Regions from separate parts of the Homo sapiens genome. Here region 1 is linked to region 2. Evidence: promoter capture Hi-C in human tissues and cell types (Jung and others, 2019). All regions are on one chromosome and are shown on one strand. The core of a region is centred on a gene start or on the middle of the fragment in contact, and the rest is flanking DNA. Distances in the headings are between cores, read along the strand shown.

Region 1 (2,700 bases), core at 103-2,602, 190 kb after region 2:
TGTCTGATTCCAATTCTGTGGGAGCTGTTTTGCAGCTCTATAAAGTGTAGATAACTGGCAGCAATGCTAAATCATTCTTGTCTATAGATATGCAAATGAATGCTGTCCGGTAAAACAACAACAACAACAAAAAAAACCCCATCTGGCTGTATTTGCACAGTCATTTTAATATTCCGGATCTATAAATGTGTCTGTCCTTGGGATTCTCCTTTCACCTGGTTGTAATACTTCACTGCTTTCCTCATGAATTAGTTAAATAAAAACTTTAACTCATGTTTATTCTTATATCTGTATAAGAGTACTGATCTTACCTGTTTATGAAAATTATCTTTTAATGGCTACTTAGAACTAAATTATCCTTTAATGGCTTGTCCCCGTCTTTGTTTTAGCCACAGAGGGCCTAGAGACTTTAAGGCAAAGTATCAGAGACTTTTGAGGCAGCCCAGTCTGGCGACTTTCCCAGCAACCTAGCGCAGAAACTTTCTAGAAGCTTTATGATGACATCCCTGTTCAGAAGCACTTGGTGTTTTTTCTGTTCTATTGACTGAGGTGTCCTGACACTATTTTGGCAGACATTGTAATGTGCTGAGAAGTTGTACCAGGTATCTCATCATCAAAATGGAAATTTCAAAAGGCTGTCCTGAGTAGCCCCTGAGATTGTGCACCCCACTTTAGCGATGGCTAATATATCCTATTGTCAATGCATAGATGACGGTAATGATAATGGCTTGCTGGAAAAATGCTGAGGATACTTGTCCAGTTCAGAAAAAAGGCCTTCATCTTTCACCACAGTATATGCCCTCCTGGGTATTTATGGCTTGCTTGAGTGTGTGTAGGACCACCGTCATTATCAAAACATGTATTCCTAACAGCAGAGAGTGAGACCTTTTCTTAGGACGGTTAATAAACAAACCCAGAAGTTAATGTTACCTTGGGAACATGTCAAGTTTCTGAGTCATAAAGCCCCAAGTTAGTAGCTGGAAAGTCCATCATCAAGGTTAAGGGCATCCCCCAGAATGCTAGAATGATTTTGACAATTTGAAAAACTTTGTTTAATTATTGCTCAGGGAAGAAACATCCACAAACATCTTTGTTTAGCAGAGGACTTCTGTGACAGATGAGCCAAAGTAAGTAAAAAGAACAAAACAAGCCAGGCGAGTTGGCTCATGCCTGTAATCCCAGCACTTTGGGAGGCTGAGACAGGCGGATCACCTGAGGTCAGGAGTTCGAGAACATCCTGGCCAACATGGCAAAACCCCATCTCTACTAAAAATACAAAAAAGTTAGCCAGGCATGGTGGCACTGGCCTGTAATCCCAGCTACTCAGGAGGCTGAGGCACCAGAATCGCTTGAACCCGGGAGGCGGAGGTTTCAGTGAGCCGAGATCGGCCACTGCACTCCAGCCTAGGCGACAGAGTGAGAATCCGTCTCTGAAAAAAAAAAAAAAAAAAGAACAAAACAAATTAAAAAGTTTTACACAAGTGTGTCATTGTTAACAGTTTGATATACAGCCTATCATGACTCAGTCCTTTGTTTCTGGATCATCTAATTTAGGACAAAGCTATTTTGAGCTGGGGAAAAGAAATTTCTGGAAAATTGAGAAAATAGTGTTAGTAGAGGAAGGCTCCTTTGCAGTACCTATTGCTTTCATGAGAAGGATTTTTCCCTAAACCCTCTGACCCTAGGTCTTATGCCTCTCAAGTGAATTGCCTGACTTGAAAGGGGAACTGGGTGTGTGTGGCCCAGCCCTGTCCTCCTGCCCTCTTTCTCTCCCTCTGGGAATCTTCCTATCTACAGAGCGGTAGTGCTGATGGCTGCTTGACTCTGGTTTTTCAGGTCAGACTATAACTTGGCAAATCTCTCTGATACCAGAGGAGTTCAGGATTGGGAAGTCTACTGTTGCCACATACTTCTATTCCAACTTTATTAGGGAACAGAGATGCTATTTATCGGGCTACCACCCCAATATTTATTATCAATGTTTCTTTAGAAAATTGCCTGGGGGCTTTAGGTTCTGGCAGTCATCATACAGGGAGTTACAGTGTCATTTAAGGGTATCAAATTAGAAAACAGCTGTGGAAAATTATGTGAAAACCCAATTTCCACGGACACTGTGGACATGGTGATTGTGGATGTGTAATGAACAGGGCCCATGATAAGAATGTAATTGAACAATGCTTTTCCACATTCAGCACATCCAGAATCTCAGAATCCTTTACATAATTCAGAATGTATCTTGCCAGAACAAGAGAGACCACATCATAAATGTGAATTCTAAATACACAGCTCTTTTTAAAATCTACCATGACTAATTATAACTGTTGGCTCAACAGATGTACCCCCACTCCATCACCCTTCTTTTTGGAAACACAATACCACTAAGAGCCCCTGCAAGATATCCTCCTGATGGGTCTAAAAAGCCCTCTGCTGACAAGTACCGCCTGAGAATGAGTCTTACACACCTGCTCGGCAGGCTGTGCACATCTCAAATATTCAGGGAAGCAAGGAGGAAGGGGTATGGCCCTCCAGGGTGCTGCTGTCAAGCACCGTAGCAGAGTAACCTACTGGAATTACTTGTAAAACCATCCCCACAAAAGCAAAAATCCATATGCTGCCTCTTGTCGTTCCAGAGGCAATAGTTAAGTTGTACACACGGAAAAGACCCAAATTCGGGGTTGTCGCTTCCTGATCATTTTTGTC
Region 2 (2,700 bases), core at 15-2,514:
TACAAATATGATATATCAATTCTAAAAATACAAAAAAAAATCATTAAACTATAGGGCATCTAGGTGGTAGAAAATAATGCAACTTAACTGCAGTATGGAAATATGGAGCAGTCTTCAAAATATTAAGTTAAAAAAGAAAAGGAAAGAAAAAAGGAGAAAGGTGTGCTAACAATTGATTATGTCTTTTATGAAAATTATATATATATATATATATATATATATATGTTTTTATCCATGCATAAACTATTAATGGAAGGATTCCCAAGAAACATATTACTGGCTGCCTCTAGTGAAAAGGAAAAAGATTTCAAAGCCCCAAGCATGAGAGTCTTACTTTTCATTGTTTATATTTTTCATTTTATTTTGATTTTTACCATGTATAGATAATATATCTTAAAATAAAATCAAAATTATATTTAAAATTTTAAGACTATTATATCCTTTGTATATATAATTTTTGCATCACTTTTGAAACTCTACTCAAGGAAAACAATATTAAAAGCAAAATACCTGTCAGTAAATTATAGAATAGCCAAATGCAAAAATTTAAAGCAGCAATTAAAATTAACATCACACTTTTTAAATAATATTGTGAAGTCTTTGGTTAATGTATTCATCCATGAAATAAAATTTTTGAGTGCTTATATTACATCTTAACACATACTGCTAAAAGACAAAAACAAGATACAAAATCATCTCTAGATAATGATGTAGACTGTTTAAAAATAAAATAGAAAATTGGAAATAAATCAAATACTAACATTTGTTATCTGTTAGTGATAAGACTGTTGTTAATATATGTGGACATGCTTATTAGACATACAAGTGGTGATGAAAAATAGTTATTCCAACTCTTCTGTTTAGAATTTTTTTGCTTTTTTTGTTATTCCTCTGTGGAATATTTCCAGAAGTCAAATAAAGTTGAGGGTCATTCATGAATAAAAGGAGCTGGTTCATTATTGAGGAGCTCTTACCAAGACACTTAACTTTTTGTTTTGTTTTGTTTTTTAAGACAGGGTCTCACTCTGTTGTCCAGGCTGGGGTGCAGTGGCACAATCTCGGCTCACGGCAACCTCCGCCTCCCAGGTTCAATGATTCTCATGCCTCAGCCTCCCAAGTAGCTGGGATTACAGACAGGCACCACCACACCCAGCTAATTTTTGTATTCTCCGCAGAGATGAGATTTTGCCATGTTAGCCAGGTCAGTCTCGAGCTCCTGACCTCAAATTATCTGCCTGTCTCAGCCTCCCAAAGTGCTGGGATTACAGGCATGAACCACGATGCTCAGCCCCTTAGCTGAACTTTTAAACAGAGATTTCTTCTATTTCAGACAGACACTGAGACTGAGGCACCCATTCCATGGATACCTCCACCAGTGTTACCTATGACTCCAGCCTCCAGATTTCCCAGTTCATCCTGATGGGATTACCAGGCATTCATGAGTGGCAGCACTGGCTCTCCCTGCCCCTGACTCTGCTCTACCTCTTAGCTCTTGGTGCCAATCTCCTCATCATAATCACCATTCAACATGAGACCGTGCTACATGAACCCATGTACCATTTGCTGGGCATATTAGCAGTGGTGGACATTGGCCTGGCCACCACCATCATGCCCAAGATCCTGGCCATCTTCTGGTTTGATGCCAAGGCCATTAGCCTCCCCATGTGTTTTGCTCAGATCTATGCCATCCACTGCTTCTTCTGCATAGAGTCAGGCATCTTTCTCTGCATGGCAGTAGACAGATACATAGCCATCTGTCGCCCTCTTCAGTACCCCTCCATAGTCACTAAAGCTTTTGTCTTCAAAGCCACAGGGTTCATCATGCTCAGGAATGGCCTGTTGACCATCCCAGTGCCTATACTGGCTGCCCAGAGACACTACTGTTCCAGGAATGAAATCGAGCACTGCCTCTGCTCTAACTTGGGGGTTATCAGCCTGGCTTGTGATGACATCACTGTGAACAAATTTTACCAACTGATGCTAGCATGGGTCTTGGTTGGGAGTGATATGGCTCTGGTATTTTCTTCCTATGCTGTAATCCTTCACTCTGTGCTGAGGCTGAACTCAGCAGAAGCAATGTCCAAGGCTCTGAGCACTTGTAGCTCCCACCTCATCCTCATCCTCTTCCACACAGGTATCATTGTGCTGTCTGTCACACACCTTGCAGAGAAAAAGATTCCCCTTATTCCTGTGTTCCTTAATGTGCTGCACAATGTCATCCCCCCTGCACTCAACCCCCTGGCCTGTGCACTCAGGATGCACAAACTCAGACTGGGCTTTCAGAGACTGCTTGGACTGGGTCAGGACGTGTCCAAGTAACTCCAGCTTTAGGAATCCAGTAAGATGTTAGGAAATGACAGAGGTTTTAGTTCTCAATAGATCAGGGTTATAATCTGCACTTACCACACTCCCTAGGAAAAAAATGGCCAATAAAATCATGAAAACTGTCAGCCTCACTAATCAAAATATGTATATTAAAATTACAAGAAAATTTCCTATTACCTGGAAAATAAGTAAGAACAAAAAAGTGAAATGTTTCTAACTATTACTGCTAGCCTACCCCGAGATTAACACTTTCCTACACAACTGGTAGGACTATAAACACACCAAAAAGCAATTTGGTAAAATTTATCAAAATGTTTATAAATGTTTAAATGTTCTTAACCAGTAATTCTATTTTAGAAAAATATCCAAAAGAAA

The links. Contacts are between HindIII fragments. The study calls those that stand out against the background at their distance.
Region 1: a contact is called between a fragment that was not itself captured here and the fragment with the promoter of OR56B4 in region 2, in 2 of the 25 tissues and cell types used here (mesendoderm cells and spleen).

Annotation. Positions count from the first base shown.
Region 1 is chr11:6,299,530-6,302,229 of GRCh38, forward strand. No RefSeq gene overlaps it. Among named protein-coding and RNA genes, the nearest start is that of CAVIN3, 20 kb to the right of the region's middle. The HindIII fragment of the contact is 4,182 bases long and covers 1-2,700 here.
Region 2 is chr11:6,106,420-6,109,119 of GRCh38, forward strand. It overlaps OR56B4 (olfactory receptor family 56 subfamily B member 4), which reads left to right and starts at 1,265. Exons shown (of 1, transcript NM_001005181.2): 1 at 1,265-2,416. The coding sequence starts at 1,360. The coding sequence ends at 2,319. The region is part of intron 2 of LOC124902622 (a long non-coding RNA gene); the gene reads right to left. The HindIII fragment of the contact is 6,854 bases long and covers 1-2,700 here.